Linked DNA regions of Homo sapiens: region 1 is linked to region 2. The links are contacts of gene promoters, found by promoter capture Hi-C in human tissues and cell types (Jung and others, 2019). All regions are on one chromosome and are shown on one strand. Each heading gives the region's core, a stretch centred on a gene start or on the middle of the fragment in contact. The rest is flanking DNA. Distances are from core to core; before and after follow the strand shown.

Region 1 (6,129 bases), core at 2-2,501, 330 kb before region 2:
TCCCCTGAGAAAGTGGGCCCTGGGGCTGAACTGAAGGAGGGGCGAAGAGGGAGGAGAAGTGGAGCAGGCAGAATGTGGCATGGAGGGGAGAGAAAGCAGAGCATCTGCAAGGGATGGAAAGGTCGAGGGCTGAGAGAAGAGGGAGTGGGAAGGAAGAGGCAGGCATGGGCCAGACATGAGGAGCTTTGCAAGCCACGTTGGCGAGTCTGGACTTCATCCCAAGGGCACAGGGAAGCCACTGAGGGAGTGAGGCAGGGTGGCCCATGATCAGAAATATAGTTCAGAAGGATCCTTCTGATTGCTGTATAGATAATCTGAGAGGGCAGCAAGACTGGAGGGATGTTGAGCCAAGAGGAAGCTATTTCACAATTCAGTAGAGAAATTGTGCAACTGGTTGCAGGGATGAAAAAACGAGGATGGACTGGAGAGAGGTTAAAGAGGAGGAAATGACAGAACTTGTGACTGATGAGAGACACGGAGGAGTCAGTGATGTGGGCAAAGGGCCTGGGCAGCTGGGTGGATGGTAGGGCCTTTCTCTCAGATGGGGAAACCTGGGAGAGGAGCAGGTTACTGGCCCACTTCCTCTGCTTCATCTCTGAAGAAGCAATCATAGAAAGTGCTCAGTAAGTGTAGATGGTCACTGCTTCTGCAGCCTGATTGACACAGGCAGTGGTGTTCTGGATGACATTTATTAACAAGCTCTCCAGAAAAAAAAAAAAGGAAGCTGGTTTGTAATGTTTGTTATTTTCTGTGGCATAATTACTCCTATTCAGGCCATCTGCAGGCATCTCACAGGATGTTAACGTGTCAGAATTCCTGAAAAGTTCCTACTTGCCTCCAGTAACACTTACAGCTAGTGTGTAAAAGAGGGAAAGTTCTCCAACCCTGTAGGTTTCTTGCTTGGTCCTTTCTTACCCATCACCATCCTTTCTCCACAGAAGCTGAGCTCTTCAGGAAAATTCGCATCCAAATGAGAGCCCTGGACATGCTCCAGATGGCCTCTTCCCCTATCGCCTCCTCTAGTAACCGGGCTAACCCACAGCCCCGCACAGCCACCCGAACCCAGCAGGAAAAGCTTGGGTTTCTGCACACTAACTTCAGATTCCAGCCTCGGGTGAATCCTGTGGTCCCTGACTATGAGGGCCTTTACAAGGCCTTCCAGAGAAGAGCAGCCAAAAGAAGAGAAACCCAAGAGGCCACTCGCAACAAGCCCTTCTTGCTGAGGACCGCCAACCTGCGCCACCCTCAGCGGCCCTGTGATGCTGCCACCACCGGAAGGAGGCAGGTGAGAGCCCAGGCAGCTGTGGGAGGGTCAGGGCTGCGGCCTGAAATACAGGGTGGGGCCAGGTCTTCCTGGAAAGCACTTCTCAACAAGGTTTTCCTATCTTTTTTTTAAACACCAGCTCAGTTGTAAGCAGATTCACTTTCCTATAAACTCCAGACCACAGCCCAGCCTGGGCAACAGAGACCCCATCTCTAAAAGAAAAATACAAATATTTGCCACATGTGGTGGTGTGTACCTGTAGTTCCAGCCATTCAGGAGGCTGAGGTGGGAGGACCTTCTGGCTGCAGTGAGCCAAGATGATGCCACTGTACTCCAGCCTAGGCAACAGAGTGAGACCCCATCTAAAAACAACAACAAAAAACAGGCCAGGCGTGGTGGCTCACGCCTTTAATCCCAGCACTTTGAGAGGCCGAGGAGGGCAGATCATCTGAGGTCAGGAGTTCGAGACCAGCACGGCCAACATGGCAAAACCCCATCTCTACTAAAAATACAAAAATTAGCTGGGTGCGGTGGCGGGCACCTGTAATCCCAGCTACTTCAGAGGCTGAGGTAGGAGAATTGCTTGAACCTGGGAGGCGGAGATTGCAGTGAGCTGAGATTGTGCCACCGCAGGCCAGCCTGGACAACAAGAGTGAAAGTTCATCTCAAAAACAGAACACAACAGAAACCATAGGGACACTTCTTTTCCTCCCTTACTGTAGAAGGATTTCACAGAAATAAGTCCAAGCAGGCTTGAGAGGCAAGGAGTTGGGATCAGTTGTTGATGTCTCTATACCAATTCCAAGGAACTCTTCTCATTTGACTAAAAACTTTAGGATTGATATCCAAGTCTTGGCTTGGTTGTGAAACTTGAGATCTCTTTATCCTTGCCTTATTCCCAGGAAAAAAAATGAAGATTCTCATTTTCAGTCCTTCAGTGAAGCTGAATCCTAGTAAAGATAGAAAATGGCTGGGCGCGGTAGTTCACACCTGTAATCCCAGCACTTTGGGAGGCCGACACGGGTGGATCACCTGAGATCAGGAATTCGAGACCAGCCTGACCAACATGGTGAAACCCCGTCTGTACTAAAACTGCAAAAATGTAGCTGGGCATGGTGGCTCACAACCTGTATAGTCCCAGCTACGTGGGAGGCTGAGGCAGGAGAATTGCTTGAACCAGGCAGCTGGAGGTTGCAGTGAGCCGAGATTGCGCCACTGCACTCCAGCCTGGGCAAAAGAGCGAGACGAGACTCTGTCTCAAAAAAAAAAAAAAAAAAAAAAGATAGAAACTAATCACACATGCTGTCCCACCAATACCAACCTTTGTTTCTTCTAGGATTCCCCACAGCCACCAGCTACACCCCTGCCAAGGAGTCGTTCTCTGAGCGGCCTTGCTTCCCTCTCTGCCAACACTCTCCCTGTGCACATCACAGATGCCACCAGGAAGAGGGAATCTGCAGTCAGGTGAGTGGTCAGGCTGCACGAGACCCATGCTCTGATTCTGGCCCCAAATGCTGGAAACCTCCCTGCCAAGGGGCCTCCTTTCCTGTTATCAGAGATACCTCAAGGGGTCAAAGGGAATTTTCTGATCAGGACTGGAACAATTGCGGTTCTCCACACCTGGTGCTTGGAGAACAGCTAGCCATCATTCAGCACATATTCATAGTGGGCTTATTCTGTGCCAGGCACAGTGTTAAGGCTGGAGATCTTAGGGAACCTCCAGTTTATTATCTAGTCTGAAATACAGAAAAGCAAAGAAGCAATGGCCATATTTTTTGAGTAGTGCAATGATGGGGGGTAAAGGGGACTGTGAGGGCACTGGGCAGCCTGGAGCAGGGGGGTCTTGTCTTGTGGAATAGATGTCTAAAGTGAAACTGAAGAACAAGGAAGAGTTCGCCAGACAAAGCCTGGAGAGAAGGAAGGTTCCAGACAGAGAGAACATGGATAAAAGCCCATGGGTGAGAGGAAGGGAGTAGTGAGGAACAAGAATTCAGAGAAGCATGCTAGCAGGTGGCTGAAGTTGCCGCAAATATGAGACATCCATTGCATAGATTTGAGATTCTCTGAGATTCATCTTGGGAAGATGTCAGAGTCTGTTGGGCAGCAAGAGCCTGCTTATTTTTAACTCTTCAACTGACCTGATTCTGTTATGATGTTCTCATTAAGCCAGCCCCCAGCAAGGGTTCTTCCACCAGGCTTCTGAGCTGAAGTAGGCAAGAGAGGTCATGGTGTAACAGCAGCTTAGGCCAGGGAGAGGACTAATGTCTTACTGCCTTCCCATGGGGCATGTAGGGGAGTACTCAGAACCTACTTGGATCGTTAAGCCCCACAGCAGGGATTGTAGAAGAGTATTTACGGTCCAAGGGATACTCCTTTCTTCTTCAGACTTCAGTTAGACCTACTAAATCAGGGCTAATTAATTGCTCAGTATCCTGAGGGCCCAAGAACACAGGCCTCCTGAACAAAGAGGCTGGCCTTCCTATAGAGGACATCCACATCTGCTTTCCAGCCACAGGGAATCTGACATATTAACAGATTAAATTTTCATGTCCTTCTTCCCAGTATGTCCATTTGAATATAAACATCCAAATATAAGAGTCTTGGTTGATTTTCCTTTTGGAAGAACTCAACATATTACTTTGTAGATAACTGAACAAACTAAGTGCTACAAGTTGAACCCAAATAGTCTGCACTGAGGGAGGCTCATTTCCAGTTCTCTCTGAATGTGCAGATTTGTATTCCCAAAGGACCATGAACCCAGACACCTTCCAGCCCACTGTTTCCAGCAGAGTGGTCAAGGCCAGAGGCTTCGGAGTCAGAGGTCCTGGTCCAATAGGGGCTTTTCCACTGGCATGCTGGGTAGCTTTGAGCAAGGGGCTTACCTCCTTTGAGCCTCAATCACCTCCCCTATAAAAAGGGAATTTAGTATTTACCTCATAAGGCAGTTATGAGGACAATGTGAAATGTAATGGTACTTGGTTCATAATAAGGAGCTCAGTAAATGGTAGCTATTAGTATTATTTTGTATCCAGATAGGCGAAGACCTATTGAATGTTGGACTGTTTAAGTAAGGATATATATATTTTTTTTCGAGACAGAGTCTTGCTCTGTCGCCCATGCTGGAGTGCAATGGCGCAATCTCAGCTCACTGCAACCTCTGCCTCCCGGGTTTAGTGATTCTCCTGCCTCAGCCTCCCAAGTAGCTGGGATTACCGGCACGTGCCACTACACCCAGCTAATTTTTTTTGTAGTTTTGGTAGAGACAGGGTTTCACCATGTTGACCAGGCTGGTCTCGAACTCCTGACCTTGTGATCAGCCCGCCTCAGCCTCCCAAAGTGCTGAGATTACAGCCATGAGCCACCGTGCCCGACCTAAGTAAGGATATTTTAACTGACGTTTCTCCAGTTCAGTAAATGCACTTCTAGGGTAGGAACTCACTGTGTCCCTAGTGCTGGAAAGGCTTCATCTGCCAGTGCATTTAATCCTAGAATTTTATTATTTTTAAAAATGGCAGTTGAGGTAAATTACATGCCCCATTCATTAAAAACACCAACTTACTTTCCAGAAAAGGTTACTAAGATTGCTTTATTTTATTTATTTATTTATTATTATTTTTTGAGACGGAGTCTCTCACTGTCGCCCAGGCTGGAGTGCAGTGGCACGATCTCGGCTCACTGCAAGCTCCGCCTCCCAGGTTCATGCCATTCTCCTGCCTCAGCCTCCCGAGTAGCTGGGACTACAGGCGCCCACCACCGCACCCGGCTAATTTTTTGTATTTTTAGTAGAGATGGGGTTTCACAGTGTTAGCCAGGATAGTCTCGATCTCCTGACCTTGTGATCCGCCCGCCTCGGCCTCCCAAAGTGCTGGGATTACAGGCATGAGCCACCATGCCCGGCTATTTTATTTTATTTTATTATTATTATTATTTTTGAGACGGAATTTGATCTGTCGCCCAGGCTGGAGTGCAGCAGTGCGATCTTGGCTTATTGCAACCTCTGCCTCCCGGGTTCAAGCGATTCTCTTGCCTCAGCCTCCCGAGTAGTTGGGATTACAGGTGCACACCACCATGCCCAGCTAATTTTTGTATTTTTAGTAGAGCTGGGGTTTCACCGTATTGGCCAGGCTGGTCTTGGACTCCTGACCTCAGGTGATCCACCTGCCTTGGCCTCCCAAAGTGCTAGGACTACAAGTGTGAGCCACCACACCTGGCCTAAGATTGCTTTTCAGTATACCCAGGTTGGTAATCTATACTCTTTTTCTGCCTCCTTCCTTTAGAAGTGCACTTGAAAAAAAGAACAAAGCAGATGAGAGTATTCAGTGGCTGGAGATACACAAAAAGAAGTCTCAAGCAATGTCCAAATCTGTGACCTTGCGTGCAAAAGCCATGGATCCCCATAAAAGCCTGGAGGAAGTGTTCAAAGCAAAGCTGAAAGAGAACCGGTCAGTGTCCTCTATGTGTCAAAAGGGGTGCTTGCCTTGGGATCCAACAGACCACTGGCCTATTGCCAGAAAATGCAAAATAGAGTTATCGAGGTAGGTAGGCTCCTGTAATCACAGCAGGGTCATGATTTTCCAAGTCAGATAGGAATTTACAGTGTACACGAGAGTTACACTGCTTTACTGGAAATGAAGGGTATTCTGGATTAGAAAAGATGAAATTCTTTCTAAAAGTCTTGCTAATTCCAGGAACAATGACCGTAAAAGAGCGAAAGAATATAAGAAAGAACTGGAGGAAATGAAGCAGCGAATACAAACAAGGCCCTATCTCTTTGAACAAGTTGCCAAGGTAAAACTAAACCATCATTTGTTTTCTTTCTGCCTTAGATAAAAGGACTCTGAAAAATTACAAAACAATTTTAATAT
Region 2 (5,937 bases), core at 54-2,553:
CAAACATCCTGTGTTTACTTAGACTAGGGTTCCTCAACCTCAGTAGTACAGACATTTTCAGCAAGATAATTCTTTGTTCTGGTGGTTGTCCTGTGCATTGTGGAATGTTTAGCAGCATCTCTGGCCTCTGCCTGCTAGATGCCAATAGCACCTCTCCCTTCAGATATGACAACCACAAATGTCTCCAGATATTGCCAAATTTCCCCCAGGGAGGGCGGCTAATCATTGCAGGTTGAGAACCACGTACAGCATGTTTATGATAGAAGGGAGAGGACTGTCAGGCAGTTTTGTGTGTGTTTTTAAACAATTAAAGGGCATTGCCAATACTGTGGATTTTAGCTTCTTTGGAAGTTTGATGTGAAAGGAGGCAAAAATCCTTCTTGCACATCAGCTTAAGGTTTTGCCCATATCGTATTCAAACAAAACCACATGGCTGGCACATAGTGGCTCTCAATAAATATATAATAAGTTGAATGCACTATTCAGCACATAGCTAAAGTGGTGGTGCCTCCAGGGAGGGACGTGAAACTTAAAAAGGAAAGACTGGAGTAGCTACTCAGGAGGCTGAGGCGAGAGGACTTGAGCCCAGGAGTTCGAGGCTGCAGTGTGAGCTACGATCCAGCCACGGCACTCCAGCCTGGGCAACAGCGGACGCCCAGACTCAGAATCCATGACAGACTCTGGAGCGAAGGAACAAGTTCAGGGATGTTCCACAATCACGCGATTCCCAGGACAGGAAAGGGGCCGGTGGGGGTCGCAGAGCTCGACCAAATTCTGGGCAGACTACTCATCCGGCGGCAGGAAGAGCGCGGCGCGCACCGGGCCCGCGCGCACCGGCTCGCGCCGCACCCCCGGCCGGAGAAAGTCGCGCTTGTTCTGCGCCAGGCACAGCAGCCGCCCGGGCTCGGTGTCGTGGCCGTCCAGCACTTCCAGCTCCACGGCGAAGGGCGTCCGCACGTCGCGCTTCACCAGCCGCACCAAGGCTTTCTCGGGCTCCAACGCCCACAGCAGCCCCATGGGCTGGAGCCCCGCGAAGCTGCCTCCCAGCGCGGGCGCGCGCTCCAGGTCCAGCTCGTCGCGGGCGTCGGCACGGTAGCGCGCGTGGGCCCGGAAGAGCGCGCCCTCTTCGTCGCGCAGGGACGTGCGCAGCGTGACTGGCTGCTCCGGGGCCAGGCCGCGCACTGCGATGCGCAGCGGCTCGTCCCAGCAGCAGCGGCCCGCGGGCTCCAGGATCAGCGTCGCTGCCATCCCAATCTGGGTAGAACAGGGGCGACCCAGCTCCGCGGAGTCAGTGGGCGGGCCTGGCGGCTTTGCCGAGCGCTGGAAAGTAGTCGAGGGCGGAGCCCTTAACACTACTCCCATTGGTTGGACTTGGGGACAGGCTCCAGGCCGCTGCGTGGGGCGCCTAGAATTTGTGCAAATACACCAGTGTCCCAAATGAAAGAGTATCTGCTGAAATAAGAGTTAATGACCAATCCGGCCGGGGGCGGTGGATCACGCCTGTGATCCTAGAACTTTGGGAGGCCGAGGTGGGTGGATCACACCTGAGGTTAGGAGTTCAAGACCAGCCTGACCAACAGAGTGAAACCTCATCTCTACTGAAAATACAAAATAGCCAGGTGTGGTGGCGCATGCCTGTAATCCCGGCTACTTGGGAGGCTGAGGCAGAAGAATTGCTTGAACCCAGGAGGCAGAGGTTGCATTGAGCCAAGATTGCACCATTGTACTCCAGCCTAGGCAACAAGGGCAAAACTCCGTCTAAAAAAAAAAAAAAAGAGTTAATGACTATTCCTGCAATCCAATGTGGTGAGTGTCGAAATAGAGGCACAAAAACCACTGAGAGCTAAAGGATTGAGAGAGATACAGTCCAAGAATCTAGATTTTGAAAAAGCATCCCAGGTGATTGTACTCAGGTGACCCCTTGGAGAAACATGGTCGTAATCCGTCCTTTACCCCTCAGTCCCTTACCAAGCCTTTTTTCCAGGGCTAATGGTACCTGGAGCAAAGCAGATGTTTAGGGAGGCAGACCTAGCCGAGTTCTGGTCTGACCCTGATCCTTAATATTAATACCTGGTGATCTTTAGCAAGAAACATAACCCTCTAAATTCAGTTTTCTTATCTGAAAAGGCTTATTGTGACCATTAAATGGGCTAATGTGTAAAAACACTACACTGACACACCTGTAGGTTAGTACCCAGTGAAAGTTTTGTTTTGTTTCTTACCTCACAAATCTAATCACTGGCAGAGTCCATTTTGGGTTGTATGCATACAGAGTTCTGGCAGTAAGCAAGTGGCACTCTCAGCCTGTGTAATTGAGGAGAGTTTTATAAAGGTACTATCTACAAAGGCATGGGCAAGATTTAAAAACAAAAACAATGAAACAAGATTCGGTGTAGAACCCTGAATCTGAAGGTTCAAGGGAAGGGGGCAGTCTGATAGGAGTTGTACCTTTTTTAGAAGGAACCTATGGTTTGTGGCAGGAAGGAGGAGACTATAAGTCCCTTGACTCTCCTCTTGTTTTTCAGTATCTTGCTAATGCCTCTCTTTGGCCAAACCCAACCACACAGCTCAACCTAGCTGGGAACATAGCAGGGTGGAGAAGGAAGAAGAGCATATAGTGATGCCCAGCTCAGTAAACATGTATAAACTGAACAAAAAGGTATTAGACTCTATGAAGCAAGTTCACTGTATGCTGGTTACCAACTTGTCTGAGTCCAGTGAGAAAACACATTCATATATTTAATACAACAATTTACATGAACTGGATTTATTACTTACAGATAGGCAGCAAAGAATGACAGAAGCCTAAGAATCATTGGAAACCAGTCCCCCAAGGCTCAGGAATGCTGCCTGGGTGATGGAATCTCATGTGTGTGTGCCCCACTTGCACTGCAGCTGCCCTGAGTTTTGTACTCTGGGGTCATGTGACTGCTGGGTTAAAGCATTGAAAGACATCCTGTTTGTAGGGAGGGGCTGGAATAGAGCCAGGGCTATTCCAGCCAGTCCGTCCCTCTCTCAGGATGTTACATTCCCAGCACGTTCTATGCTTGAGAACTACTAGTGAGAAAGAGGGGAGAACTGAGTCAGTCCAAGGCCAACCAGAGAACTGCCCTGCAGTCCATCCCCAACCCAGATACCTCCTTTAGTAAACCTAGTACATTTCATATGCCCTCCAGACCCCCAGGATCTGGAGGCAGAGGTTTGTCTGATCATATTAATATGGCACCTTGGTCGGGCACGGTGGCTAATGCCTGTAATCCCAGCACTTTGGGAGGCCGAGGGGGGCGGATGACTTGGGGTCAGGAGTTTGAGACCAGCCTGGCCAACATGGTGAAACCCTGTCTCTACTAAAAATACAAAAATTAGCTGAACGTGGCAGCACGCGCCTGTAATCCCAGCTATTCAGAAGGCGGCGGCAGGAGAATTGCTTGAACCCGGGAGGTGGTGATTGCAGTGAGCCGAGATCTCGCCACTGCTCTCCAGCCTGAGCGACAGAGCAAGACTCCCTCTAAAAGAAAAAAAAAAAAAAGCGACACTTGACTGAAACAATCTCGGTGCAACATTGTTAAGCCATGGCCGGAATATATTGCATTAGGCCCAGGAGACTACTATAATAAGCAGGATGATCAGGCTTGCTTGGAGCTGTGGCCTACCCCCAAGTCCTAGTGATCCAGGCAAGAAGTTTTGAGGTCCAAGAAAGATTCTTTAGGTAGCCACTCTGACTGCAACCAGTAGGCCTGCTTCCAGATCCTCTACCTATGTCTCCACCATGCCTGAGGTGTTTATCCAGGTACACCAGGAGGTGTTGGCAGTGGCACACACTCCTCCCAATTAGTCTAAAAAAAAAAAGGGTAGAGGAATTCTGTTGTTTAAAACAACCTGGCCAGGCGCGGTGGCTCATGCCTGTAATCTCAGCACTTTGGGAGGCTGAGGCGGGTGGATCACGAGGTCAGGAGTTTGAGACCAGTCTGGCCAACATGGTGAAACCCCGTCTCTACTAAAAATACAAAAATTAGCCAGGCATGGTGGTGCGTGCCTGTAGTCCCAGCTACTCGGGAGGCTGAGGCAGGAGAATTGCTTGAACCCGGGAGGCAGAGGTTGTGGTGAGCCGAGATCGCACCACTGCATTCCAGCCTGGGTAACAGAGCGAGATTCTGTCTCAAAAATAAAATAAAATAAAATAAATAATAGAACAACCTTCCCAAGGGAGTTGAAGGATGTCCCTGTGCTGCCAAGGCAGTGGCACTGGAAGCAGCAATATCAGGCACAGTTTTCTTATCATTTTTTTCATGAGCACTGACTCCTATATATGGTACCAAAAATTTCATAGAGGACCTAAACCTAGAATCAGCCACGACCTGGCAGGTTCCTAATAAGCATGGTGCATACTTTTAGACTACTGGCCCAATGATGTTTCTTGTACCCAGGGGTGATATGCAGGAGCACCCCCAGCATGCCCAATGTCCAGGATCCCATCATCTGCCAGCTTTCCAGGTATGACATTGTCCATCCCATGTTTGGCTCACTCCCAGATCACCCACAGAGGAAGAGGCAGCTTTTGGATGCACACTGCATCATTTTATTCAGCAACCCAGTCATGGCTATGGAGGATTGGTATTCACCAGCCAATTCTCATTGATGGCATAGTGACATGAGCTCAGTCTCCCCCATACAATCAATATCGTTCACAAAACCTGTACACAGAGGGTTAGCATTACACCTGATATGGTTTGGCTGTGTCCCCACCCAAATCTCATCTTGAATTATAGTTCCCATAATCCCCATATGTCCTGGGAGGGACCTGGTGGGAGGAAATTGAATCATGGGGGTGGTTAGTCTCATGCTGTTCTGGTGATAGTGAGTGAGTTCTCATGCGATCTGATGGTTTTATAAAGGCTTTCCCCCTTTTGCTCAGCACTTTTTGTTGCCGCCATGTGAAGGACATGTTTGCTTCCCCTTCTGCCATGATTGTAAGTTTCCTGAGGCCTCCTCAGCCATGCTGAACTGTGAGTCAATTAAATCTCTTTCCTTCGTAAATTATCCCATCTCAGGTAGGTCTTTATTAGCAGTGTGAGAACAGACTAATACAGTAAGTTAGTATCACAGAGAGTGGGGCACTGCTGTAAAGATACCCAAAAATGTGGAAGCGACTTTGGAACTGGGTAACAGGCAGCAGTTGGCACCGTTTAGAGGGCTCAGAAGAAGACAGGAAAGCGTGGGAAAGTTTAGAACTGCCTAGAGACTTGGAGGGCTCAGAAGACAGAAAGATGTGAGAAAGTTTGGAACTTCCTAGAGGCTCATTAAATGGCTTTCACCAAAATGCTGATAGTGATATGAACAATGAAGTCCAGGCTGAGGTGGTCTCAGATGGAGATGGGGAACTTGTTGGGAACTGAAGTAAAGGTCACTCTTGCTATGCAAAGAGGCTGGTGGCATTTTGCCCCTGCCCCAGAGATCTGTGGAAGTTTGAACTTGAAAGAGATGATTTAGGGTAACTGGCAGAAGAAATATGTAAGCAGCAAAGCGTTCAAGAGGAAGCAGAGCATAAAAGTTTGGAAAATTTGCAGACTGACTATGCTATAGAAAAGAAAAACCCTGGCGGGGCACAGTGGCTCATGCCTGTAATCCCAGCACTTTGGGAGGCCAAGGCAGGTGGGTCACAAGGTCAGGAGGTTAAGATCAGCCTGGCCAAGATGGTGAAACCCCATCTCTACTAAAAGTACAAAAATTAGGCAGGCACAGTGGCAGGCGCCTGTAATCCCAGCTACTCGGGAGGCTGAGGCAGGCGAATCGCTTGAACCCAGGAGGCGGAGCTTGCAGTGAGTCAAGATTGCACCACTGTACTTCAGCCTGGGCAACAGAGCAAGACTCTATCTCAAAAGAAAAAAGAAAACCCCGCTGGGCATGGTGGCTCATGCCTATAATCCCAGCACTTTG

What was found. The method cuts DNA at HindIII sites, captures the fragments that hold promoters and counts their contacts. A contact is called where the count stands out against the background at its distance.
Region 1: a contact is called between a fragment that was not itself captured here and the fragment with the promoter of ACOT6 in region 2, in 2 of the 25 tissues and cell types used here (IMR-90 fibroblasts and spleen).

The regions. Positions count from the first base shown.
Region 1 is chr14:73,937,525-73,943,653 of GRCh38, reverse strand. It overlaps FAM161B (FAM161 centrosomal protein B), which reads left to right. Exons shown (of 9, transcript NM_152445.3): 4 at 939-1,285; 5 at 2,601-2,728; 6 at 5,542-5,706; 7 at 5,953-6,052. Among named protein-coding and RNA genes, the nearest start is that of FAM161B, 9.5 kb to the left of the region's middle. The HindIII fragment of the contact is 9,683 bases long and covers 1-6,092 here.
Region 2 is chr14:73,607,883-73,613,819 of GRCh38, reverse strand. ACOT6 (acyl-CoA thioesterase 6) reads right to left here and starts at 1,303. Exons shown (of 3, transcript NM_001365788.1): 1 at 788-1,303. The coding sequence starts at 1,248. It also overlaps a transcript of HEATR4 not described here. RefSeq lists enhancers at 1,043-1,092, 626-1,125, 1,143-1,192. The HindIII fragment of the contact is 22,654 bases long and covers 1-5,937 here.